7 separate regions of the Homo sapiens genome follow, and all the other regions are linked to region 6. Evidence: promoter capture Hi-C in 16 types of primary human blood cells and fetal thymus (Javierre and others, 2016). All regions are on one chromosome and are shown on one strand. The core of a region is centred on a gene start or on the middle of the fragment in contact, and the rest is flanking DNA. Distances in the headings are between cores, read along the strand shown. Region 1 overlaps EPHA1-AS1 (EPHA1 antisense RNA 1). Region 2 has its middle 35 kb from the start of EPHB6. Region 3 has its middle 16 kb from the start of EPHB6. Region 4 overlaps EPHB6 (EPH receptor B6). Region 5 overlaps TRPV5 (transient receptor potential cation channel subfamily V member 5). Region 6 holds the start of TAS2R40 (taste 2 receptor member 40). Region 7 holds the start of TRPV6 (transient receptor potential cation channel subfamily V member 6).

What was found. The method cuts DNA at HindIII sites, captures the fragments that hold promoters and counts their contacts. A CHiCAGO score of 5 or more calls a contact.
Region 1: a fragment that was not itself captured here is called in contact with the fragment with the promoter of TAS2R40 in region 6 in 1 of 17 cell types (M0 macrophages); the score reaches 5.7 in M0 macrophages.
Region 2: a contact is called between a fragment that was not itself captured here and the fragment with the promoter of TAS2R40 in region 6, in 1 of 17 cell types (total B cells). The highest score is 8.0, in total B cells.
Region 3: a contact is called between a fragment that was not itself captured here and the fragment with the promoter of TAS2R40 in region 6, in 6 of 17 cell types (naive B cells, M2 macrophages, naive CD8 T cells and 3 more). The highest score is 7.0, in naive B cells.
Region 4: a contact is called between a fragment that was not itself captured here and the fragment with the promoter of TAS2R40 in region 6, in 6 of 17 cell types (M0 macrophages, M1 macrophages, naive B cells and 3 more). The highest score is 10.8, in M0 macrophages.
Region 5: a fragment that was not itself captured here is called in contact with the fragment with the promoter of TAS2R40 in region 6 in 4 of 17 cell types (neutrophils, M2 macrophages, M1 macrophages and 1 more); the score reaches 9.1 in neutrophils.
Region 7: a contact is called between the fragment with the promoter of TRPV6 here and the fragment with the promoter of TAS2R40 in region 6, in 16 of 17 cell types (M2 macrophages, total B cells, M1 macrophages and 13 more). The highest score is 22.1, in M2 macrophages.

Annotation. Positions count from the first base shown.
Region 1 is chr7:143,517,883-143,521,447 of GRCh38, forward strand. EPHA1-AS1 (EPHA1 antisense RNA 1) reads left to right here. Exons shown (of 5, transcript NR_033897.1): 4 at 400-635; 5 at 1,049-3,565. Among named protein-coding and RNA genes, the nearest start is that of TAS2R41, 42 kb to the left of the region's middle. The HindIII fragment of the contact is 2,467 bases long and covers 18-2,484 here.
Region 2 is chr7:142,817,844-142,821,579 of GRCh38, forward strand. No RefSeq gene overlaps it. Among named protein-coding and RNA genes, the nearest start is that of EPHB6, 35 kb to the right of the region's middle. The HindIII fragment of the contact is 300 bases long and covers 1,257-1,556 here.
Region 3 is chr7:142,837,040-142,841,057 of GRCh38, forward strand. No RefSeq gene overlaps it. Among named protein-coding and RNA genes, the nearest start is that of EPHB6, 16 kb to the right of the region's middle. RefSeq lists a cis regulatory region at 1,434-2,135. The HindIII fragment of the contact is 5,151 bases long and covers 1-4,018 here.
Region 4 is chr7:142,859,215-142,862,908 of GRCh38, forward strand. It overlaps EPHB6 (EPH receptor B6), which reads left to right. Exons shown (of 20, transcript NM_004445.6): 2 at 1,838-1,972; 3 at 2,803-2,919; 4 at 3,542-3,619. Among named protein-coding and RNA genes, the nearest start is that of EPHB6, 6.0 kb to the left of the region's middle. The HindIII fragment of the contact is 2,948 bases long and covers 971-3,694 here.
Region 5 is chr7:142,928,095-142,932,219 of GRCh38, forward strand. TRPV5 (transient receptor potential cation channel subfamily V member 5) reads right to left here. Exons shown (of 15, transcript NM_019841.7): 2 at 2,255-2,352; 3 at 1,964-2,086; 4 at 1,334-1,471; 5 at 928-1,026; 6 at 597-772; 7 at 1-140. Among named protein-coding and RNA genes, the nearest start is that of TRPV5, 3.6 kb to the right of the region's middle. The HindIII fragment of the contact is 3,654 bases long and covers 277-3,930 here.
Region 6 is chr7:143,220,511-143,224,459 of GRCh38, forward strand. It overlaps TAS2R40 (taste 2 receptor member 40), which reads left to right and starts at 1,527. Exons shown (of 1, transcript NM_176882.2): 1 at 1,527-2,569. The coding sequence starts at 1,569. The coding sequence ends at 2,540. The HindIII fragment of the contact is 3,585 bases long and covers 1-2,030 here.
Region 7 is chr7:142,883,495-142,887,111 of GRCh38, forward strand. TRPV6 (transient receptor potential cation channel subfamily V member 6) reads right to left here and starts at 2,251. Exons shown (of 15, transcript NM_018646.6): 1 at 1,895-2,251. The coding sequence starts at 2,142. The HindIII fragment of the contact is 18,692 bases long and covers 1-3,617 here.

The DNA of each region.
Region 1 (3,565 bases), core at 1-2,500, 300 kb after region 6:
CCAGAGGACGAGGGATAAGCTTCAAAAATGAGCACTTGAATGTTCCACATCAAAATTATCTGGTGGAGGGACTGTCCCAGTTCTGGTGCTGTGAAGGTCAACTTCATCACACATAGATGCATGATATTGTACTTTCACATTTTGAAAACGACCCTAGGCCTGAGGATTAGTTACTTTATCTACTTGAGAAATATTAGCATTTAATAGGGAAGCTAGTTTGTTTTCAAAATTTGTTTCTAAAAATAACTATCATTTTCCATGAAGTTGATTTTAGTAGACTTGAACATACTTTAAACTTCTAAACATCATTTTGTGCTACAAAACAGCAAGTGATCTCCCTCGAAAACCCAGCAAGACCCTCCTTCTAAAAGATGTTTTTCTGTTTCTTGCTGGCCATAGATGAGAGCTGGAATGAAGTACCAGGGCAAGGGAGCTGCCTGGATGAGGAAACCAAGGCTATCTCAGTACTGCCAAGGTGTTTTCATCATTCATCAAAATGCAAAAGTAAACACTGGTGAGAAAAACGATGTTGATCTCCCAGGCAAGCCACTTTCCAGGAGTGTGGCTGATTATTTTCAAATGCTGCATCGGAAAGTTGCAGGCCCCTTGGAAAATCTGTCACCCCTGAGAGTGATGTGAGTGATTTTGGCTTCGGGGGCTCTTTCCAACGGGATCATTTCCCTGCCATCCAATTGCCTGCCTTAGTGTTTCCAGAATAGATCCCTGTGGTTGCTGAGAAAGAGCAATAAATGCCTAAATGATTCAGGAGGCCCGAGGCTGGGCTCTGAGGGGGGCCCAGTCTCATCAGTGGGGAGTCTCTTCAGTGGCGGATCCTGTTATTGATGTGGTCTGGGGCCTGGGGATTTTGTTCTTTGACCAAGACAAAGGAGTAATACATGGAGACTTTCCTTCCTAGGCTTTGTCTGAGGTCAAATATTTGTTCTCCCATGGAGCTGAAAAATAATCAAGGATATCATCTTCTTGAATATTCTCTATTCTGCTTCTAAGAGTTGAAGAAATAATATTTTCCTCAATTCTATTTTTACAGATTATTCTACAGAAACAACACATCACTGGATGCCTCTCACCATGCAATCCTCTGTGCACTTGAGAAGAAGACAAGACTCTCCTATTTTTAGATGGGAAAGCTGAGGCAAAACGGATGCACTTGGGCAAAATCATTTGATAAAAATGGAAGCTGAACCTCCAAGTCCTGGCATCGGTAGCTGCCTCATGTTCCTCCCGCCTCACTCCACCTCAGTGTACCCGCGACTGGAGGGTGCCACAGGCTGGAGCACACAAAACACTGTGTGCTTCGTGATTCTGATGTGGGGCGCCAGATCCGGTGGAAGGAGGGTGGCTGCGTGGGAACAGATGCTCGTGTCACAAGGAGTTGTCTCTTGTGGGCAAAGCAAGCTGGAAAGTGTTTCGATTTCTTTATTTTCATGCTCTACTCTTGGTGCTTCCTTCTCCTTTGCCCACCAATCCCCCCAATGCCAGGCTTCTCCTTACCTGGGTGCAGAGAGAGGAACAACTTGGAGGTGGGCAGAGAGGGACTCAGTTCATGGTGCTTGGAGGTGGGAGAGCTCCCAGGCAAAATAGAGAGGAGACTGTGGAGATGCCGTGGGCAGGTGTGGAGGAGAGGGAGAGCTTGAACGGTGAAAAACAAGAGATGGAGAGTCTGGGAGAAGGGTGAGCAGCCAGAATGGGGATTTCCACAGTAGCTTCTGATGAGCTATGTCTGGTCAGAACTATAACCTTAGCTTCCTTTATTTCCCTGGAGGGGTGGGGAGATAGGAAGGAGAGGAGTATACTAGTCTCTTCCAAAGGGAGGGCCAGAGCAAAAGCGTCCTGTGATTAATTACTCACCACAAAAACCCTCTTCAAGGCTGGAGACCTAGGAGGGGCTTGGCACACAGACAACTCCTCTGCAGCTGTTCAGAGAAAAACAGCTCTTCCCATCTCAAGCCGCCCACCTGCCCAGTGTGCTGTCTGTCCCACTGGTCACACACTTTCCCTAGAGTGCTTCTTGCTTCTCTCACAGCAATTCCCACCTCCGCATGCTGGACCAGGCGGCCCCCTCTAGATCCCATGGTGAAGCATCAGGTGCCCACAGGTCTAAGATGTCTTCATTTGTTCAATGGCTAGAGCAGGCAGCTGGCTGTCCAGATGCATGAATGAATTCCCTAACTCTCACATGTCTGCAGGAAACTGCTGTAGGAAGCCTGCACCAGTGGATTGCCATTCGGGCAGATCCTCTCAACTTTGAGAGCTTAAGGCTTGCTTTTGAGTATGTGATTATGATCCTGCCTGTGTGTATGTATGTCAGAATCATAGAACTCTAGAGGTCATGTTTTAATTAATTTATTCATTCATTGATTCATTAACAAATGCTTATTGAGTACCTACTATGTGTCAGGCTGTGATCTGGATACTGAGGCACAGATCAGTGAGCAAAACAGACCAAAAGCTCTGTCATCATGAAGCTTATATTCTAGAGAGAAGAGATATACTATCATCAAATTAAGTCAGTTATGTAGCATATTAGAAAGTGATAAGTCCAGTGGGGTAAAATAAAGGAGGATGATGGGGAATGTGAGGGGCGGCATGCAATTTTAAATAGAATGTTTGAGGAAGGCTTTCATGGGAAAGTGATATTTGGTGCAAAACGTGAAGGCGGTAAAGAGGTGAATTATGTGGCTATGTCGGGGATGGACATTACAGGCAGAAGAATTAGTTAGTCGGGGCTCTGAGCAGGGAGCAGGTCTGGCATGTTCCCATCCCAGCAAGTAGGCCAGTGTGGCTCTGGTGGAGTAAGCAAGGATGGAATTGCAGCAGGTGAGTCCAGAAGAGTGATAATGGACAGCCAGTTGGGGGTGCCTTCCAGGTGATTGTGGGAACTAGGCTTTATTCTGAGTGTGATGGGTAGCCACTTGGGGCTTTCAGGACAGGATGGTAAAAAAAGGATCATGCTGCCTGCTGTGTTGGGAACAGACTGTATGGGACCAGGTGAAAGCAAAGCAGTCAGCCTCAAATAATTCAGGTGAGGGAAAACGTGACTTGAATAAGATTCACTGTAGAAGTGGTGAGATATAAGTGGATTCTGGATATAATAAAAATATAGAGCCAGCAGGATTTTCTGATGGATTAGCTAAGGAGTGTAAAGAAATAGAGGAGTCAGAGTGACTTTTTTTTTCCTTGAGCAACAGGAAGTGGAGAGGTATCATTACCTGAAAGGAGGAAAGCCTCAGGTAGAGAAAGTTTTAGAGGAGGTAAGATCAGAGGTTTAGTGCAAGACATGCTAAGTTTGAGATGTCTATTAGATACCCAAGTGGATCTGTCTAATGGGTATTTAGACAGATCCACTTGGATATCTGTCTCAATGGACATGTGATCTACATGTAGTTCACAGGATAAGTCCAGTTTAGAGTACCAATTTGAAGTCATCAAATGTAGGTGGCATTTAAAGTGGTAAAACTGGACTGAGCACAGTGGCTTATGCCTGTAACCCCTGCATTTTGGGAGGCTGAGGTGGGTGGATAACTTGAGGTCAGGAGTTCGAGAC
Region 2 (3,736 bases), core at 157-2,656, 400 kb before region 6:
ATACCCTCCAATAATAAACACCTAGAAAACTGGGCAATATACGTGAGATAATTGTTTTCTAATATTGGACAAGAGATGGCACAAAACTGTGATCCATAAGTGAAAGGAGACAAATGAGGTGCGTGCTGTGATCATTTCCGTTTTCTACCCAGAATTTCCTGGGTTACTGTACAAACAAGAGGGACCCAAGCAGAGCATGGCACCCTGAAATTCTTACTGAGCTGAGGACACAGCTCAGAGAAGAGGAGGCCATGCACGGAAAGAGCCCCGCAATTTTCATGAGGTCTCATTGAGTCTTTGGGTAAATACTAAGCTGGCATCCATTGGGTGAAACTCCACAGGGGCAGGCAAAGAATAAGTACTGGAGAATTAACAACTGCTGGTGAACTACAGTATGAATAATTACTAGATCTTGGTCGAGGCTGAGAGAGATACAGCTCTGAGCCATCAGAATAGCTTTGTTGAATACCTGGAACATTGAACAGGTATCCCAGGAAGCCCATAACTTAGAGTAGGACTCAAATGGCATAGAATAAGTCTACCGTCCATTAACCCTAACAAAGCTTAAAAGAGCCCTTGAAAGGAAAAGCAGACAAGTTGACCTGCAAGCAAGTCAACTGCCCACTAGAATAAAGCTCAACACTCTTTGAGAGAAGAAAACAAAATTCAGATAATAAAAAAGTAACATTCATAATGTTGAGCATCCAGTCAGAAATTATGGGATATACTTAAAAGCTGGAAAATGTGTCTATGCTAAGTAGTAATATTAGGCAATTGAAATCAACCCAGAAATGGCAGAGATGGTAAATTAAAATAATGGGACTTATAAATGGCTAATATACTAAAATGGCTATTATTAAATATGTTCAAGGATTTATAGTGAAACACAACATAATGAAGAATGAAACAGAAACTATAAAAAAGCTAAATAGAACTTCTAGATCTGAAAAATATCTGAAATGAAAATTTTGCTAGATAAGCTTAAGTTGGAGTAGACACTATAGGAGAAATGTCTATGAACAGGAAATCAGGACAACAGAAACTGTCAAAACAAGAGAGAGGAAAATAAAGCTAAACAACTACAAAAACTGGAAGAGGTCTCAGGGAACTCCCAAACAATATCAAGCCACCTAGCACACATATCATTGGAGTCTTCAACATAGAGGAGAGAAAGTGGTGGCAGAAAACAATTATTTTTAAAATAGTGGCCAAAATGTTTCATACATGATAAATAATATCCACCTACAGATCCAGGAAGCTTAGCAAAACCCAAGCAGGATAAGCTCAAAAAAGTTTGTTTATGAAAGAGATTACTTTCAGGTATGAGGCTCAGTTTAACTTTCACATAAGAGACAGACTCTGAGATGGTCCTTGAGAAGTCATAGGGTTTTAGACTGATAAAAATGACATTAAAAGGCAAGAAAGGATGAATGGTACAGAAATGACCAAAGGTACAGAGGCTGAAAGTACAGGACATCGGTGAAGAACAGTAAGAAGATGAACCTAAAGGGAGAGGAAGAGAATACATGAAGATAGGTTACAGTAGAATTTCCTAAAGCTTAACACATCTGTGTCTGAGGGAATTCTATGATGGGGTAACAGAGGCTGAATTTACCCTCAAACCTGAAACAATTAAAATGCATGAAATATATGAAACTCTGGACAACAGATGGCTCAAGACCGTGATCCCTGAAAGAAGTGAAATGAATAAAGTGAACCCTGTGATGGCCTCAGTTTATAGCCTGGAGATCTTTTTCAGGCAGTATTATAGGGAGGAGAAGCCCAAACAGCGCCTGGCAGTCTCTCTGAGTTAAGGAGACTTGCATTCAGGGTTTGAGGAGGCCAAAATGGCTAAAATTCCAGGGAAGAGACCCAGGGAGGAGAAAGCGGTGGGTGGGAAGTGCTCTGGAATGTGCATTGGACTCCCAGTGACTCTTCAACTGCTCTGACCAGTGAGTACAAGAAAACAACCTGAGGCTAGGGAGAGACCACTCGATGGATCAAGCAGAACCATCTCAAAGTCCACACGGGGCCGGGAAAAGATGGTGCTTCCATCAACCAGAGTGGGAGACCTCCTAACACAGAGGGCATTGAGGAGAATTCTCAGAAGCGGATCACCCCAGTCGCGGGAAGCAAATTTGCTGTACACTAAAGGCTGTCCTAGATACAACTTACAAAGCTCCAAAACAAGACTCAGAAATATCAAATTGTTTCTATGTAATCTATCTGCATCACAAAATAAAGTCCCAAATTTATTTAAGGGATACAAATACTCCAGTAGCTAGAAACGTAAAATTCAAATATCTGATATCCAATTTTAAAAAGTCATATATGCAAAGAAAAAGAAAAATATGGGTCATAAGGAGGAGAAAAACACTCAATAGAAACAGATCCAGAAATGATATACATGATGGAGTTAGCAGACAAGGCTATTAAATATATATTCAATATGTTCGGCAGGATAGAAGAGAGTGTACATATGTTAAGAAGAGACGTGGAAGATTTAAAAAAGACTGAAATAAAACTTCTTCCGATGCAAAATACAATGAATGTGATTTTATAATATACTGGATGGGATTAACAGCAGATTAGGTATCTCAAGTCAAACTTAAAGATAAGGTAATAGAATTCACCTAGGATAAAAACAGAAAGAAACTGACTTAAAAAAAGTGAGCAGAGCATCAGTGAGCTGTAGAACAGCATTAAGCAGCCTAATATTGAGAGTCCTATAAAACTGGAGGACTAATGCAGAAAAAAGAAATTGAATAACTAATAGCTGAAGCAGTTTTAAATTTAATGAAAAGGAAAAGCCACAGATTGAAGAAGTTTCATGAACTCCAAGCACAAGTAACATGAAGAACACTTTAACAAGATATAGTATCATTGGATTGCTTAAAACTAATAAAGAAAAATCTTGAAAAGCAGCCAGAGAATAAAAGACACACTATGTACAAATGAACACAGTTAAGAATGACTGCAGTCATCTCACTAGAAACAATTCAGGCAAAAGAGTGTGGAGAAACATCTTTAAATTATTTAAAGTAAAAAAAATCCTCTTAACCTAGTACTCTATATCCAGTGAAAATATCTTTCAAAAACATTGGCACAATAAACTTCTCAGACATGAAAAAACTAAAATAATTCTTTGCCAGGAGACACACACACTATAAGAAATGTTAAAGGATGTCTTTCAGACAAAATGAAAAAAAGTCCAGATGGAATTGGTAAGCCAGCTCCCTGTGAGGGATAAAAAGGAAAAAAGGGAAAAGCCTGGATTTATAGCATTTTGACCAATTTTGTGAATATAAATATTCCCACCATGGCCAAATTCAAGCAAACAACAATTTCTAACAACTGGTTCACAGAATTTCTGGATATTTAACAACTGGGTCCTATGAGCTGATACAAACCAACTACAGACTATTACAGATAGAATATCATTAGTAAATATGTAATAAATATAAAAAACAGTATTTGTGCCATTTAAAAAATCTCTTTAAAAATAATTGACTTTCTATTTCCAGTGAAAACAAAGTAAGGGACAAAATACATAAAGCACCAGTTGTCAAGACATTAGACATCAGGCAAGGAAGGACAAGAAAAAATGAGGTGAGTTTTATAATAAAACAAGCTTACCACCTTGAGACAATTTCCAGGCCATGGCACAGAGAGGGGAAATCCAGGGGGAAACCATCAAACTCCTCGAGTCAAGGAGACACAGCTGAGAGGAGAATAA
Region 3 (4,018 bases), core at 982-3,481, 380 kb before region 6:
CCAGGGCACCCAGTTAGTAAGTGCTACTGGTATATAAATAAATTGTTAATGATTTTTTAAAATGCTAATGCCTACTGCTGATGGCCTGTGAGACAGTAGGGTGTGTATTTCTGTAGAGCAATTTGCTATACGTACATGAAGTCATAAAAAAGCAAATATTTTCTGACTTGGCAAATTTGCTTCAAAGAATTTGATCCAAGAAAATAATTAGACATCTAACACCTCAAGTACAAGAATATCCACTGCAGAGTTTTTTAATTGTGAAAAACAATACTGGCTGGGCGTGATGGCTCACGCCTGTAATCCAGCACCTTGGGAGGCCGAGGCAGGTGGATCACCTGAGGTCAGGGGTTCAAGACCAGTCTGGCCAACATGGTGAAACCCTGTCTCTACTAAAAATATAAAAATTAGCTGGACGTGATGGTGCATGCCTGTAATCCCAGCTACTTGGGAGGCTGAGGCAGGAGAATCACTTGAACCCAGGAGGCAGAGGTTGCAGTGAGCCGAGATCATGCCACAACACTCCAGCCTGGGTGACAGAGCAAGACTCCTTCAAAAAAAAAGAAAGAAAGAAAGAAAGAAAGAAAGAAAGAAAGAAAGAAAGAAAGAAAGAAAGAAAGAAAGAAAGAAAGAAAGAGAAAGAAAGAGAGAGAGAAGAAGGAAGGAAGGAAGGAAGAAAGAAAGAAAGAAAGAAAGAAAGAAAGAAAGAAAGAAAGAAAGAGAAAGAAAGAAAATACTGAAATAACTTAAATATTCAATCAGAGGAAATGAGTAGGTAAATTATAGTAAATTATAAAATGGAATATCTTTTATATTTCAAAACTTACTTTAGAATATTATTTAATGATATGCAAAATAGTTTTATTGGCATGAAACATCATATTACGCTAAGTGAAAAATTTAAGTTCAAAGTCATAGATTGAGAAAAACTCATTTATCTCCCCTCACTCCAAAATAAAAGCAATAAAGTATAGAAATATGTTATAGGAAAAAGTATAAAAGAGAAGAAAAGAACATAATTGTCAAATACTGGATGGAGAATATTAACAAAATAAGATTTTAAGGCCGAGGCAGGCAGATCATGAGGTCAGGAGATTGAGACCATCCTGGCTAACACAGTGAAACCCTGTCTCTAATAAAAATACAAAAAAATTAACCAGTCGTGGTGGTGGGCACCTGTAGTCCCAGCTACTCGGGAGGCTGAGTCAGGAGAATCCCTTGAACCCAGGAGGCGGAGCTTGCCATGAGCCGAGATTGCGCCACTGCACTCCAGCCTGGGTGACAGAGCGAGAATCCGTCTCAAAAAAATAACAATAAATAAATAAATAAGATTTTATGAGTTTCTCAAAGACCGGAGATGGATATGGCCAAGGTGATTTAATGTAAATCAGAGCGAAAAGAGACTAGCTCAATAGAGGTAGAAGAGAAAGCAGCAGGTGAGGCAGGGTCATTTTTATAGCATTCTATAAGCCCTTAGAGATGTAGTCAAAGCATGAGAAAGTGCTTAAAGTAAGACAACTGATTGAAGAACTGTATGTCCAATGGCTGCTGAGTCACACATCGCACACATGAGTATGTGTAAGGAAAGTGCCTATAAAGTGAAGCTGAATGAACTATCAGCCTAGGATGGGCAATGGCTTTCAGAGTACAGGCTGCCAGCTTGCTTATCTTAGAGTACAGCCTGCCTGTCCACATACCACACCCACAAACAGAAATCTTGCAGTCTTTGTATGCAGGGAAAAGGAAACTACTATCAGAAGAAATGTTAGTCAGTTACAGGTAATAATCAACATTTCTAAATTCATAATCATCTCGGACAACTGAGTATCAGCAGACATTTGATTAAAAAGAAAAGCAAAAGGCTCTGGCAAAGACAATTCTATAGATTTATCAAGCCATTTTATCATCCTCTGGGGAGTACAGAAAAACTACATTTCCCAGTATCCTTACATCTAGATTGGGCCTGATGACCAATTCTAAACAGGGGAATGCAGTAGAAACATAAGCCACCCAGGTTTGGCCAGAAACACAAAATCTCCTACATGTGATACTCCTCTCTCACTTTTTGCAGCAATAATGGGAATCCTAGAGTAGTGGTGCTCTGCATCTCTGAGTCATCCCTTATAGGAAAGTTGCCCCGGAGAACTCTCTGACCAGGATGATACGCATTGGCCTTTATGTGAGGTGAAAGCAAAACAAGAAAACTTACATTGGATTAAGGCACTAAGAATTTTGAGATTATTTGTAATAGCAGGTAGCATTAATTATTCTTACTAATATAGCAAAATAAAAGAGAAACACCAAGATAATTAAACAGAATATTGACCCCAGAGGAAACATATATAATTTTAGGAAAAGACAAAAACTTTAATTGAATTATAAGTCTAATTTTTCTTTTTTAAAATTTTGAGGCTGGGTGAAGTGGCTCACACCTATAATCTCAGCACTTTGGGAGGCGGAGTCAGGCGGATCACCTAAGGTCAGGAGTTTAAAATCAGCCTGATCAACATGGTGAAACCCCATCTCTACTAAATACAAAAAAAAAAAAAAAATTAGCCAGGCTTGGTGGCGCATGCCTGCAATCCCAGCTACTTGGGAGGGTGAGGTAGGAGAATTACTGGAACCCAGGAGGTGGAGGTTGCCATGAACTGAGGTCGTGCCACTGCACTCCAGCCTGGGCAACAGAGCAAAATTCCAACTCAAAAAAAAAAAAATTGAGAAAACGTTATATTTATTTATTTAAAAAAAGAGTAAAATGAAAAAGAAAAAGAATAAGGGACAGTTGACATAAGTTAAAAATTATTGCTTAAATGATAATTTCAGGAGAAAAGCTATTAATAGAAAACATATAAATCACAAACAAAAAAAAAGGATGAAAAGCAGTCAGGGGAAAGGTAAGCACAGTAGATAAATATTTTTTACATATTCTTATACAACTTCAGAATAGAAATGATAAAAAGAAAACCCTACAAACTGCAGAAAAAATAAATAAAACAAATTATCATGGGCAGAATTGAATCAGATTGGCAGCTGACTTCATACCAGCAACATTAAGTACTAGAAGTAAATGAAGTCAGGACTTCAGTCAGACTATAAAAGAAAATGTTTTACATCTCAAATACTATAACTAACCAAAATATTAATAAAGCATTAAGATAGAATAAAGTCATTTAATACAGACAGAGATGAAAGTTTTTCTATAAAGTGTATTAAAATATGAATTCCAGCACACACAAAAAATGTAGTCCTAAGGGAAAAAAAGCTGAAGATAAGAAATCAAAGTACAGTGAAACAAACTCCAAAATTCAGTAAAATTAAATCTCAGGATGGCCAGGATGTTGGTTCTGTGGTAAAACCAGGGAATAAGAAGTTCATATTAGAACAAGAAGTAAGAGCATTCTGCTAGAATATCTTAAGGAAGAAAATAAAATTTTTTAGGAAGAAATAGCATGCTAAGGAGGATGAATGATCTTAGTGAGAAAGTGAATGGATGCTCCATCCCGGGACTTTCTCCATGAGCCCATGTGCAAGGCCGCTCCAAAGACATCAATGGAAGTGCTACATGGGCTCAGTTACATGGACTTCCTTTGCAAGGCTAATAGGAGGTTATCAGCACCAGCAAAAGGAGATACTAAAGTTTAGTCCCCATCATAGCACCATTCTCAGGTGTTTAAGGAGATCTCCCAGAAGCCTGATTACTTTGAATCCCTTCTATCTATCTATCATTAGGGAGACATAACTTAATTTCACAGGAGTATGTACATATTCTCAAGAAGAATTTTCCTTCCTTACCCACAATGTTTCTGTCAGCACCATCATTCTTGGACTTATTGAATGACTTATTCATCATTTTGACATCATCTCTGACCAAAGAACATATTTTATGGTGTTGTAAGTGTAGACGTAGACTTACGCACATAGAATTATCTGGTTTTATCATGTGCCACACCACCTAGAAGCAGCTTGATTGGTAGAAAGACAGAATGGCCTGCCAATGGGTCAGTGAGGAGACCACCCT
Region 4 (3,694 bases), core at 1,195-3,694, 360 kb before region 6:
TGCAGAGGCTGCTTCCCATCTCTGTGGCAGGAGAAATGTACTGGCCTGTCCCTGGGATGCTCTCCTGGACCAAATGCAGAAGATGCTCCATGCCCACAACCATTGAAGACACCTTTGAAAAATCAAGTTCTGAGTCCTGCTTACTTAGCATTCCAGGCATGTGGAGCAGCCGTGTTCTTGTCACTTATGTTTCTGCCTTTGAAATTGGCTTCAAAAGAATCTGCAGTGGTATGAATTTGCTGACAGCAATTTATTCCATATCTTAATAAAGCTTCCTTTTTCTTTATTTGGATTCCTGCAACAGGGGTACACCCATATTCTTTTTATATATTAAAATTAAAAGTCTTGAATTTATCTGGTTTGTTTGATAAGTAAGAACTCACCTAACTTCCTAGTCTGACTCAGCAACAATTTTTTTTTTCTGAAAAAATGTATTTATAACCTTCAGTCATCTGGATCTGAATCTAAAAGAGGTCCTCATCAAACATTAGAAGTATCCTTCTGGGTACTTTAAGATCCTCAACCATTTCTTTTTAATGAATATCTTTGTTCTTAGTAAAATTTCAAAAAATTGCTGAAGTGGTCATCCACAGGCAGTGTCTCCATTTTCTTCTTTTCTTTATGCTGTTTCTTGATGGCAGAAGCTGAGTGGCCTTAACATCCATGTTTCATAATTGCTTTTGCTCTTTTCTGGATCTTCTGGAGGGAGGCCAGCTTCGTGTTGTCATTACGAGGCATGCTAAGGCTATGCAAGCACGCCCTATTGCAACCACAAGTGACTGTGTTCCTTGTAGTTCGGGTCATCAAAGCAAATATCTTGCTATTCATCTTCCAGAGTGTTCCATATTGGACAGCTGATACTATCTGCAGCGCATCTTTTCTATCTTGCTTGGCTGTCTTTCAAAATAATTCATTGAAATATTTCCAAAATATTTATTGTTCCTTCTTCATGATTATTTGCCTAGTTGTAAGCTTGAGAAGACACAGGGCTTACTGTTTCTTCTTTGTACAGATTACAGAATCCATCCATGTTCTGAGTGAAAGAAAGAGACTATTTTAAAGAATAACTTCTAGGCAAATGGTAAAATAGCCTTCATTGTTTAAAAACCTGCTGCTGGCATTTTCTTTCCCTGATAACAGTATTTCTAAGGACTCCGTGACTCTGGTTTGCTTCAGTGTGTCAAGCACGTCTCCAAATTAAGCCATTGAGAGTTTGGAGGGGATGCACTTACAACATGAATTACTTTAGGATATTTATTAAACAGCCACTGGTGACGGTGCCAAGGTTACAGAATTTAATAGCTATGCCTGCTTTTTACTTCATGATCTCCCCGTTCCTCTCCAAAGCATTTATTTCATCTGTGAAGGATCCTAGTAACATTTCAGACATTTTTGCAAAGAACATTACTTAAGAGCAATTTGCCATATGGAAATGCTCCTTACTTGTCTCCATAGGCTGTAAATTGAACTCTCTATTTCACAAATAGGGTTAAAGATGTATAAAAGGTGAGTTTCAGGGGCTAGTTGGCAGGTGCCCACTCTACATCAGCCCACGCGTATGTAGAAATGGTGTATTTCCATGATAACTTCATGGACAGCACAGCCCGCAGTGCCAGAAAAAAATTAGTAGGAATCAAATTATGATTTTCATATTTGTTGCAATTAAAGTTTCATAGTTTGATTTTTGTTTTATGATAGCTTTCAACAATCCCAAGGCCATATATATCCAGGAAAAACAAATCACAACTTCTCTTCTAATTGGCTTTTTTTTTGTTTTCCTCTCAGTTCTATGTCTTTTGAGCAATCTGGGCAACATGTCTCTTTTTTTTCTTCACAGAAATAAAGGGATTATAGTCCACCCAATTCACAGACTTCTGAGACTCAGACACGAGGAGAGATAGAGAACCGCCAATCTCTAAATCAACAAGCAAAGGAGGTGCCAAGCCTGTTTGTCTTCATTGTGACACTGGAGGTAGCTATTCCTTCTGTTCATTTGCTCGTGAGCTTAGTGGTGTACCTTCTGAAGGCACAGGAAGGTTTTATATAAGAGGTAGCTTACTACATAGTTCTGAGAAGCCATTATGAGGATATGAACACTGTTTTGATTAACTTTACTAAACAGTTATTATCCTATAGTTTTAAAGAAAATTTTAATCAATGATTTAGTTGAAAGAATACACATGCAAGAGTTTAAGAATGCAAAAATTTAAATGGATACAATTAATGAGAATACAATGAAAGTTAAGTCTCCCTTGCACTGGGTCTCAGTCCACTTCCTTTGCCTTTTTCACAGGTTTTGGATGCTCTTCCATAGATATCCTTCCATACATATGTATGTGTATATATCCTTCTTAACAAAGGGGAGCTTACTTTACACTGTTCTCCATTGTCCCACTTTCACTTGGAAATGCTTTTTATATCAGTGCATCAACAGTTGCCCGTATTTCTTTCTAAGGATGTACTATAATTTTACTGTCTTCCAATTGATGGACAGTTAGTTTACAGCCTTTTCTCTTATAAACAATTTGCAATTAATGTCTTTGTTCAAACATCTGTGCAAACCCATACAAGTATACAGTACCTGAAGGACACATTCTTACAATGTAGTTGCTGGAAAGATATTACCCAATTGTCCTCCCAAGAGAATATTCCAATTTGGATTCAAGCAGAGTATGTACAAGAGAACCTATTTCCCATATCTTGTCCAACATGGTAAAAATGGTGTCTTAGGCAACTGTGGCTGCCATAACAAAGTGCAATAGACCTAGTAGCTTATACACAATAGAAATATCTTTCTCACAGTCTAGATGCTGGGAAGTCCAAGATCAGGGTGCCGGCATGGTCAGTTCCTGGCGAAGCCTCTCTTCTAGGTTTCAGACTGCCCTCTTCTTTGTTGTGTCCTCGAATGGCAGAAAAAGGGTGAGAAAGCCCTTTGGGGTCTCTTTCATCTGGGCACTAATCTCATGATTAGTGAGGGCTCCACCCTCATGACCTAAAATTTCCTCCCAAAGGCCCCATCTTCTAATACCATCATCTTGGGAGTTAGGATTTCAACATATGAATGGAGGGGGGGCACAAATATTCCTTCTATAACAAATGGCCTGTTGCTGTAGTTTTAACCTGGTTTCCTTTCAATGTGAGCAAACAAGAAGCATCTTTTCATATGTTAAAGCCATAGGGTTATTCTTCTGTAAGCTCTAGGAAAACATGCACCCCTTGGGGCACGAGGATCTTTGTTCACAAAGTGTATGCCAGACCTCCATAGCTCTGCCCCCTCCCTGCACTGTCTCATTTATCAGACTGAATCTTCATGCCTGTGTTCTTTCTGTATTTATTCTGGTCCCTTCCCTCCCATCATACCCCACAGCCATCTTCCTGTGTCCCTCCCGCTTCACTGCTTCACTGCCCCTCTGAAATTTCTAGAGCATCCAGGTCCATCGGGGGTGGGGCGGTGTGGTGAGGATTCAATTCATGTGTCTGTAGGATGCAGCAGCTTCTTAACCAGCTGCCTTTAATGAAAATCTTCTAACTTCCAATACAGGGTGGCTGTTGGAGGAAGGGAGGAGAGTAAATGAAGAGAAAGAACTGGAATAACCCCTTGCAGAAAAAAAAAAAAAGGGTAAGATTGACCCAGAAACACCCTCTGCCCCACTTCTAGGAAGGAGAGCTGTGAGAAATGAACACAGAGACAGGG
Region 5 (4,125 bases), core at 854-3,353, 290 kb before region 6:
TTATCAGAGGAGACCACAAGCTCCAGGAAGGACAGCTCCTCTCCCCAGGAGTCGATCTCCGTGAGGTCGTAGAGAATGGAGGTCAGGGGTCCATACGTCCACTGGATGTGCCTCCGCTTCTGCATCAGGTGCTGGAACATCTGAGAGACCACCAGGATGAGTCAGGGGGCCAACGTGTGAGAAGGTGGTCGAGGAGAACAACTCCATTGGATGGAGCCAGTTGCCCACCCCTTGAGACAGACAGACAGTGGGAACCAGCAAACCTCTGCATCTACAAGCTTTCCCTTTTTTGTCATCTTTCCTGCTCCAAAACCCCAGAAAGTGCAGAAAGAAGAAAATAGGCAAAGGAAGCTAGAGCTTTGGGTTATCACAGCACATGCATTAAGGTAAGGTTCTCAAATCCTCTTGAGTCAAGGACCATGAAGCTGAAGATTTCAGTGATGGAATAGGAAGCAAGGGACCACCATCCCTTTGGGGAGTTTGGGGAAAAGGGATTTTAGAGAAAGGTGGGCCCTTCACCTCTATTTCTCCCAGGGCCAGCAGGATAGGTTGAGGGTCATTAGAAAGACACCTCAGGGATGGGGAGCGTCTCTTACCACAGTGTTACCCTCCACTCCAGCCAGCTTGAAGGGGGTGAGACCCTGGTGATTGGGCACAAGGTCCAGGGGCTGCAGGTGGTCCCCATGTCCATCATAGGACAGCAGCAGGTTGTACATCTGGCAGGCAAAGGTTTTGTTGGGCTGGAGGATGAGGATGTGTAATACTGTGTTTCCTGGGGAGGACGCAGGGTATCATGTGGCCACTGGCCTAAAGTCCCTGATGTCCCCATCCCCACTCTGGGGTCTTCCTAAAGGTCCCAGCTCCACTCCTTACCCTGTCCCTCGCTCCCCACAGCATCCCAGCTCCCCTCCCCATCCCAGCTCTTACCCAGGGAGTCCTGGGCCCTGATGTCAGCTCCATGCTCAATGAGCAGCCGCACGATCTCCTCGCTGTTCACACAGGCAGCAAAGGACAAAGGGTGCTCCCCTGTGGACACAGAGAGATCCATGGCAGGAGAACGCAGGATGGCAGGATGGGGTGGGCAGTCTCCCCCAAATAAGGGCCTCCTCCTCATCCCCCATATCTCAGTTCTAGGCTGAGGGACACTCGTCCAGCAGAACCAGAGGAAGGAACCATCAGGGGAATGGGCCTCTGGCTTAATTAAGCCCTAGAAGGGCTGCCCCTCTCAACTGCCCAACAGATGGAGCTGAAGGCAGGACCCTCATGCCCTGGCCTCCCTCTGCCTTGCCCGCCTCTCCAGCCAACCATCCTTCAAGCCCAACCCTGCTCTCACCAAAGTAGATGAGGTTGCGGGGACTATGGCGGAAGGCAGTGCCTGTGGCTCTGGCAGAGACACTGGCCCTGCGGGTGAGCAGGGCACGCACCAGGTTCACATTCTGGTTCACAACAGCGATGTGCAGTGCAGTCTGACCTGGCCCAGAGACAGCCATCATCAGGGTCTCCCTCTGTCCCCAGTTCTCTCAGGGACACAGCATCCCCCACCATCCCTCTCAGGAGGTTCCTGATAGATCTTTGCTAGACTTCTGCCCTGGGCTTGGCAGGGTGGCCTGGGACTAAGAGCAATTCATCCCTCAGGCTGCCCTGCTCATTGACCTACCCTTCAGTTATTGGGAGCCAGCAGGGGATTGCTATGAATATAATCATTCTCATGTTGCTATGAGAGAAAGAAATTGAGATAGGTCCTACAGGGACTATGGGAGGTTTGAAAGGAAATGCTGAAGGAAGCCACAGATTGGTAAAAGCCAAGACCAGGACCTTTGCATTTCTCCCAACTCAACGGAGCCCATCCTCCTGACCCTCCATCACCCCACCCCAACCCATCCTTCAGAGGCCAATTTTAAGAGACAACAGCACACCCTCCATCTCAAAGTTTCCACCTTGAATTACCATGTAGGCTCCTTACCTGCAAAAGCCTCACATGTGGTGGGCTCAAAGACCAGCTCTGGGGCAGCCTCCATCAGCACCAAGGCCGCCTCCAAGTTGTCATAGAGGGCTGCTATGTGCAGCGCCGTCTCCCCCAGGGCTCCTGGATTGGAGTAAGACAGAGATGTTAGACACTTTTCAGATTCCCTTGAGGAAGGGGCCTCAGGCTCCAGAGACACCCTCCAAGGCCCTATTTCACAAACTCGAAGTCTTGGGGAGGAGGAGTAGGTTCTTCTGCCCCCACCTCCATCCCATTAAATCCAGATCCCACCTCTTTGTCGAACGTCACAGGTGCAGTCCAGTAGAAGTTGCCTAAGAACAGACAGGTCATTTTCCTTGGATGCTCGAAGCAGTGGAGACTCTAGAATCCTGGGGAAAGGTGAACGTGAGTTTGGAAGAGACAGTCATAGCAGAATGAGGCCAAGAGCAAAGGGGATCTAAGACATTCTTTAAGACCAACGTGACTCACACAGCGTGCAGTGACAAATTGGAAAGAAGTGCCTACTGGACTCGAATGACCGAGGGTGGACTTGGGCAAGGGTCAGCCCCAGGGCCTTCCTTGCAATTCACATCATGGTGATTCTCCTGTGAGGATGGCCCTTGAAGCTCTGCTGGAGGGGAAGAGTTAATAGGAAGAGAACCTGTAGTCTGGAAAGAGTGGTCTGAGAGTCTCTAAGAAGAGGACCCTAGGCTTGGCTGAATTCATCTAACCTGAGTAACTGTCTCAGATCCTGGATAGTTGGAGAGCGGGACAGAGGGCACTTCCATCTGCGGTCCCCCTGCTCCTGGGCCTGCTGAATCTACTGTCTTTAACCAAGGGGAGTTTGGGAGACCAAAACACAGAGGGAGGAGGAATGGATCGACTGCTAGATCTTTCCTAGGCATTTTGAAATTTGTGAAATTTGTGAGGCACTAAAGTTCTGACTACTCCCTCAGGCTATTTTTTTTTTTTTTTTTTTTTTTGAGACAGAGTCTTGCTCTGTTGCCTAGGCTGGAGTGCAGTGGTACAATCTCAGCTTACCGCAGCCTCTGCCTCCCAGGTTCAAGCAATTCTTGTGCCTCAGTCTCCCGAGTAGCTGGGATTACAGGCACGCACCACCACGCCCAGCTAATTTTTTGTATTTTTAGTAGAGATGGGGTTTTGCCATGTTGGCCAGGCTGATCTCGAACTCCTGAGCTCAGGCAATCCGCCTGCCTTGGCCTCCCAAAGTGCTGGGATTACATTGCGCCCAGCATCCTCAGGTTATTTAGATACAGGTCCCTGCAGGGGGTGGAGAGTTGTGGGGTGAGTTACAGGGTGCCTCTTTCTTCTGCATTATACCCTTAGATGCAAAGGTCTAAACAGCTTGTTTATGTGGGTGTCTCAAGGCAAAACAGGTTGAGATACTCATTCTACAGGACCTCTGTTAATCTTTGCTTCTACCATACCCAGATTTGAACCCAGAAAGAGATAAAGCTGGAGCCTCTCCAACTAGACATATGTGTATTGGCCCCAAAGGCAAGCACATGGTGTAGGGGGAAGAACAGAAAGGACAGGCCGATGAGTGGCTCCTCTGAGGTCCCCACCTCCAAATCCCTCTCTTCCAATAGCCCCAGGAGCCAGGGCGAAAAAGTGTTTTTATTTTATTTATTTATTTTTTTTGAGACGAAGTCTCACTCTATTGCCCAGACTGGAGTGCAGTGGTGCGATCTCGGCTCACTGCAACTTCCGCCTCCTGGGTTCAAGTGATTCTCCTGCCTCAGCCTCCCGAGTAGCTGGGACTACAGGTGCCCACCACCATGCCTGACTAGTTTTTTTATTTTTGGTAGAGACGGGGTTTCAGCATGTTGGCCAGGCTGCTCTCGAACTCCTGACCTCAGGTGATCCACCCATCTCGGCCTCCCAAAGTGCTGGGATTACAGGTGTGAGCCACCACGCCCAGCCAAAGTGTTTTCATTTAAAGAAGAAGCTTTTAATCTAAAGGTGGGGCCTGGTTTTACCTGTTAAGGCAGTGCTCCTAGGAGGGGCCTTTGTGAGGAGTCAGTTCCCTGCCCCGTCTCACCCAGGGAATCAGTCCCAGGGAGCCTGGTGTCCCTGACCAGCCTAGAGTGGTCAGGGCTGAGATTGCAAATTCACCCCCATCCTGAGGCCACTGCACAAAC
Region 6 (3,949 bases), core at 277-2,776:
CAAGATCAGCCTAGCCAACATGGCGAAACTCTGTCTCTACAAAAAATACAAAACTTAGCCAGGTGTGTTGGCATGCATCTGTAGTCCCAGCTACTCAGGTGGCTGAAGTGTGGGGATCACCTGAGCTATGGAGGTCAAGGCTGCAGTGAGCCATGATTACACCACTGCACTCCAGCCTGGGTGATAGAGTGAGACCCAGTCTCAAAAAGAAAAATAATCAAATAAAAATAACAGGGTAAGCACACTGGAAAATGATAACTGGCACTCAGCTTCTGTGTCAAGAAGACACTAGGAATTAGTATTGTCAACAAACTGAAAAGTATATACCTTGTTTAAAATGGGCAGCCATTACTCAGCTTCAGCCAGTTCACTATGAAGACCCAATACTGCCAAATCTTCTAATTTTTCAAGAGAAGATAGATTTTTTGTGCATGCATATAAGTAATCTCCTAAGTTTAAATGTTTGCCAATAGAACCCCTCAAAAAGAAAAGTTACACACTGGTGGATTAATGCTGTACAGCATTAACCAATGCAAGGTAAAATGACTACAGGCCAAATCTGACCCAAGGCTCATTGGTTTCCAGCTAAGATTTTGGATCTCAATCCTGACTATGAGCAACAAGACCTTTCGGCTTTTTTAAAAGATAGCATGCCTGAGCCCTAGTCCAGTTCTGATTTCCTAGATTTGGACGAGTCCTGGGCATCTACATATTCTTGTAAAGTGCCAGAGTTCATTCTGGTTCACAGCCAGGGTTAAAAAGTAGGAAATTAAATTTCAAGTCATAGTACCTTATCACATTTCCAAACTTCAACACCATGTCCAGAACACTGAATTCTCCCCAGGCTCATTCTACCTGATTCTGAGCTCAAATAGTCATGTGGGATCTCAGTAAGCTGAAATTGATGACACATACACAAACAATAAAAACTGGGACTATGGAGACTTCCTTCTCTCCAACTCGAATAGCATCCAATTTTGGCTTTTCTATATACTATTCGAGGACATTATAATAGCAGGCCTTTTTGGAAGAAACTCAATTCTAAGTAAAAGATGTTCATATATGAGCTTATGGGAATTTCTTATTCACAAACATGGTAACTATCAAAATAAAACTCTCTCCCAAAATAAGAGAGACAAGAAAAGAAGTGGGGAAAACAGATTTTAAAAGCTGTATGAGCTTTTACAAATAATTTAGCAGGTAACAGAGATCTTGTGAGACAAGTAAAAAGGCCTTGTATTCATTGCTTATCAGGTAAATGTGGACTTAAAGTAAATAAGGTAAGAAGGTGTTGAGCTAGAAACATGTCTCAAATTATTTCCAGTGAGCTTCTGAAAGCCCAAGACAAATGTATCTTTATGAAAAATTGAGACAGACCCAGTAACCAGATCCTCTCATTATTTGCATGTGAAGCCTCTAACTTGTAGTCATGTGATAAACAAATGGAGAAAAATTGGAAATAACCATTAATGAGGGCGGCAGAAATTATAACATTGAGCAAGGGTCAGAAGATTGCAGAGCAGTTACCCATTCTTGGCGCAGAAACCTGAAAGTCAGGATCAAAGAGAATGGCAACGGTGAACACAGATGCCACAGATAAAGACATATCCAAGTTCAAGGTCACCTTCACTTTGGTGGTCTCCGGAATAGAGTGCATCACTGGCATCCTTGGGAGTGGCTTCATCACGGCCATCTATGGGGCTGAGTGGGCCAGGGGCAAAACACTCCCCACTGGTGACCGCATTATGTTGATGCTGAGCTTTTCCAGGCTCTTGCTACAGATTTGGATGATGCTGGAGAACATTTTCAGTCTGCTATTCCGAATTGTTTATAACCAAAACTCAGTGTATATCCTCTTCAAAGTCATCACTGTCTTTCTGAACCATTCCAATCTCTGGTTTGCTGCCTGGCTCAAAGTCTTCTATTGTCTTAGAATTGCAAACTTCAATCATCCTTTGTTCTTCCTGATGAAGAGGAAAATCATAGTGCTGATGCCTTGGCTTCTCAGGCTGTCAGTGTTGGTTTCCTTAAGCTTCAGCTTTCCTCTCTCGAGAGATGTCTTCAATGTGTATGTGAATAGCTCCATTCCTATCCCCTCCTCCAACTCCACGGAGAAGAAGTACTTCTCTGAGACCAATATGGTCAACCTGGTATTTTTCTATAACATGGGGATCTTCGTTCCTCTGATCATGTTCATCCTGGCAGCCACCCTGCTGATCCTCTCTCTCAAGAGACACACCCTACACATGGGAAGCAATGCCACAGGGTCCAGGGACCCCAGCATGAAGGCTCACATAGGGGCCATCAAAGCCACCAGCTACTTTCTCATCCTCTACATTTTCAATGCAATTGCTCTATTTCTTTCCACGTCCAACATCTTTGACACTTACAGTTCCTGGAATATTTTGTGCAAGATCATCATGGCTGCCTACCCTGCCGGCCACTCAGTACAACTGATCTTGGGCAACCCTGGGCTGAGAAGAGCCTGGAAGCGGTTTCAGCACCAAGTTCCTCTTTACCTAAAAGGGCAGACTCTGTGACTGGAACTCACGGAGTTCTGCGGGACCTGGTCCAACCACTTCTGCCTTTGCCTCAGGTAGAACTCTCTCCTCACCCGTCTCTTCTCTCCCAAACCTGCTCTGACACTTCTCAGATAACGTGATCCTTTTATAAATATGAAGCTGAATTTTTAACTTGAGATTCTAAACAGAAGTAACTAAGAAACCTGAAGATGGACTTTGAAAGCTCCTTGAACTATGTTCATTCATATCCTGCCCTGAGATCTCTCCACTTTCTTCTCCTCCTGAGCCTTAAGGAGAGGGTGGCCAGACATATCGGTTTGCCAGGGACAATCTCTGTTTATTGTCTGTTGTCAATTGAGCATCCTTTAATTCTCAAGAATATCATGGTCTGGATGAAGAATTACATGATCATCCTACTTAAGACACCCAACTAACACACAGTTAGGGCTGGTGAAGCAGAGCACAGCACTCAGTCCACGGGGTAGAAGGGAAACCAGAGTGGCTACAGAAAAAGAAGATTCAGGAAAGAAAGGCTGCTGGAAATTATCAAGTGCTGCAGAGTTCCGAGGAAAGTAAAGGGTGAAGAAAAAGGCTCTGGATTTGACTAAAAGGATGCCATGTGTGCCATTAGTGGAGTGATAGGGTGACATCCTGATCCCAGGAGTTCCAGAAGATAATGCCAAAAGGGAGGGGATGGGTAAAAACCAATAGTCTAGAGAGGATGTTTGCAGATAAAGATGAGTTATAGAACGGCAGATGGATATGTGAAGGGTCAGTTCAATGCTTTATTTCTCCAAATGGGAGGGGACAAAGTGAGCAGAGAGGAAAGAAAGAATGCAGGGAAAAGAGTGAAGTGGGCAGGAAGCAGAAAGAGAAAAGGAAGAGGCCAGAGTAAGTAAGCGTCTGTTTTGCTCAGCTCCTGACTCTGTGGCAATGCTAGCGGCACCTGTGCCTCTGGTTTTACCAGTTCTGGGTTACCTTGAAGTAAATAGTGGGGCAAGAGCGGGTTACTTGGGGCAGGCTGCTGGAGAAGAGGAAAAACATTATTCTCCATTGTCATTGTTCAGGATGGTTCCAGCAGCATTGTCTCAAAGAGCTGTTCACAAAACATTGGACACCCTCTCCCCAGATATCTTAGAGCTTGAACGTTAGGAATCTGAAGTTGTCTTTTATTAGGTAAGTTTTAAATCATGATTATTGAGGAAAATGAAAAAAGAATGCTGTGGATCATACCAAGCTTAGGTAGCCCCCAAATGAAAATATGAGGTCAGTAGCAAAGTCTAGTTCTGAGCTCCAGCGCTCTCAAGCACACATTTCAGAGAGAGTTCCTTACATCCATAAACTGCAAAAACCACACACACACACGGCATACACACAGACACATGGCATACACACACACACACACACACACACACACACAGATTCCT
Region 7 (3,617 bases), core at 1,001-3,500, 340 kb before region 6:
CATAGGGGGATAACAGGACCCACCTTCCATTATTGTTACCGGGATGACGGAGATAAGGCAGGTGGTAGTACCTAGTACAGCACTGGGTTCTCAATCATTGTGTGCTCCTTTCTTCCATTAGCTCACCCCTCACTTGTCCATATTGTTCCTATTTACTTAGTCATCCCATGTTTATCTCAATGCCCCCATGCCTTCTCTTTGGTTGACGGCACAGATTAGGAAACTCCCCTTGCAGGCAATTTCAGCATCCTTCTGGGAAGTGCCCACCCAAAGAAGAGTCATTGCTCTGGACACCTGATATCCAGCAAGAAGAAGGCCAAGAAAGTGCGGAGGCCAGTAAGGAGATCAGGGCAGGGAGGGGGGATCCCTCCCAAGGGTGACATCAAGCCTTTCTAGCCAAAGTCTGCAGAGGCAGCCCCCATATGATCTGAGGAAAAGTGAGGGCAGACAGGACATGCGGAAGCAGCCTATTCTCAGCCACTCAGCGCAGGGCCTCCCCTCTGCTCTCCCCTGATATCGCACACAGGGAATCTCCACCACCCCTTCCAATCCCCCAGGCCTTTTTGCACTCTGTGCCTGGATCCCCTGGCCCTGGGGTCCTAAGAGTGGGAAGAGGATGAGTGAAGCCAGTGAGGACGACCTACTCTCTAACAACAATGCCATTCTGTTGCCCCAAGATGTCATCAGCCAAACATGTGCTCCAGTCCCCACTCTCCCAGGCCTTGGGGGAGAGGTGGGCGGCTGGAGAGATGGGAAGCCATAATTCACAGAAAGAGACCATCCCCAACCCAGAATCCTTCAGCAAAAGAAAACACAGGGGCCTCCAGGCAGCCTCCCCGGTCAGGCTAAAGCAGGCTCCTACTCTTGGGGTCAGAGAAAAACCCTAAGGCACAAAGACTTCAGGCTTTCCTCTATGACCAGACATCTGCCTCCTTCGTGACCCAGGGAAAGCCCCAACAGGCAGGACTTCCTTCTAGCATGCCACCAACTGGGTAGAGAACTCTATTAGAGACCTTGAAGAAGAGACCACATGCAGGGATAGCCCTGAGTTCCGATTCCCTGCTCCTCTCCTGCTCTGTACTCCAAGCTGTCATGGTGAAGAAAGCAGGACACGGGTTTAGGAAGTTTTCAGGGGCTGGAAGCCACCAGTGAATGTCCTTAGGGCTTAAACGCTAGAGTCTCGATTTCCACCACCTGAATGCGGAAGAGCACAGGTCCTCGGAACATCTGTTATTTTGACCCGCTTCCCCTCAGTCCCCACCCGCACTGAGAGAGAAATACACCTCAAGGTTGGGTTTGAGCGTTGTAGGTCTTCATATCCCCCCAGTGCTGGGCAAATAGTAAGGCCTTGGTCAGTGTCTGATGAGACAGATACATAGGAATGGTCACTTTTTTCACATTTTGTCTTATTTTCTGGTTCCTGGTGTCCGCGGTTCTCTCTGCTTCATTCATTCAATCGTTCACTCATTCCTCCATGCGAACATATGTATACTATGTGTTCCTGCCAGAGAGACTGTTCTAGAGGCAAGCAGTGGAGATACAGAAGGCATTGTCCTCACCTGCCGTCCCCTCTTGGGTGGAGGGGCTGTGATGCTCTATCCTTACAAGCCCCAGCAAGACGCCTGGCCCTTAGAGAAGTACTCACAAGAGGCTTGCAGAATCGAATTAGATCTTAAGATAGTGAACACCTGTGCCCATCTCAACCCCATCCTCTTTCACCAGCCCTACAGGCTGAGGCTCTTAAGACAGAATGCTCCCAAGGAGCCAGTCCGGGCCTGGGAGCACCATCTGTCCAGCCAAAGGTGCCAAACAAAGACGGGAGGTGAGGGAGGGGTGAGGGGTAGAGGTGCAGGCCTGGGGAGGTGGGGAAGGGAGCAGACCAAGGGGGCCTTACCTCTTCTGCTGCAGCAGGTTCTGCTCATCTCGGCTCTGGGCCCAGGACTCCCGTCTCTGGAACCATCTGCAGAACTTGCTCCATAGGCAGAGAATTAGCCCTTTCTCCTTGGGCAGTGACAAACCCATGGGGTGTAGGGCCGGCTCCTTGGGGGCCTGAGGCCGAGGCCAGACCCTGACGGGACTCAGCCTTGGGGCCACATCAGCCCCCCCAAGGGCCGGCCCACCGTCTCCCTGTAGAGGTCCCGTCTCCTGTCTCCTGCCTTCCTGACGAGTTCCTTGGGAGTCTCCCAGCAGCCCCAGCCAGTTTGGAGAGGGCTGTGAGTTTGTTACACTTGGCAGAGCCAGCCAGGACTCTGCAGGGCTGGCCTGTCTGGAGCTCCTGCTGGGAGTGAGCAGGAGGAGCCAAAGCTGCACGGACACGCCCTCCCTCCTCCCAAATTACCTGAGATTTAAAGACACAGGCCAGCCACAGACCTGCCTACCAAGGGGGACTTGTGCCAACTCCAATTCTTTCTCCACCCAGGGCTCTCTCCCTGCCCCCAGGCCAGTCACAACCAGGGAGGCCTTCAGAAAGACTGGCGAGGCCTCCCTTGGACGTCAGAACACCCAGTGACCTACCCTGAGAGACTCTAGGCAGTGAGAAAGGAGGGGAGGAGTCAGGGCAGGCCCATTCCCAATGTTGAGGACTCCCAGGAGGGAGCGCCCCACTTTCCCACAGTGCCTCTTCTGCCGACCACCTGCCTCACTCTCTGCCTCCCCCTGCTTATGTCCTGGAGAATTCCATTTTCTGGACTCTTCCAGTTTCATTCTTGCCAGGCCTGAAATAGGTATATAAATTGCGAAGATACTCAGTTCTCCCAGACTTTCCTCTCAGTCCCCATCACCTTTGGGTCAGCAAACTTTTTCTGGAAGGGCTGATAGGAAATGTAAAGATGTTAGGTTTTGCAAGCCATGTACACTCTCTAATGTACGTTATTCTTTGGTTTTGTTTTGGTGGTTGTTTTCTAACCACCCCCAAAGATGTAAAATGCATTCTTCGCTCACCAGCCAGGGCACAAAATCTAGCTCTGGGCAGACCCCCTGCTCAGGAGCTCCACAGACTGTCCACAATGCCCCGTGCATGGGGTGGGTGCCCGATAAAATACAGGACACGTGGTCAAATTTGAATTTTAGATAAACAACAAAGAATTTTTTAGTATAAATATACCCCACGTTTTGCAAGTATTCTATCTGCCAGCCTTCCCGTGGAGGTGACATTCAGCTGCTACTGTGTGCTGGGCCTTTTAACTGAGCGTTCCCAGGTAAACTCGTAACAAACCTGCAAGGCAGGTATTATTATCTACATTGTATTGATGGGAGAAACCAAAGCTCACCATGGTAAAGGAACTCTCCCAAGGCCATAGAGGTGGCAGAGGCAAGATTCACACCCATCCCTCATTCCAAGCCCACTTCTTTCTCCCTAGCACACCTCCTCATTCTAACTGGCCAACAGAGCTTCAGAGAGGTTAAGTGACTCGCACAGTCATACAGAAGAATGATGGCATTAAGCATGGCCCATCGTCTTCCCACAACAAAGAGCTCCATCATGAGCTTGCTGGAAGCTGTCGGAAAGGTCATTTAGTTCAACTTTTCCACTGGAAAGGGGCAGAAGCCCGGGCTTATCCAACCTCCTGGTGCCAGCCAGGTGCCAATAGCCTAGGGGCAGGTGTCTGGGTGTTCAG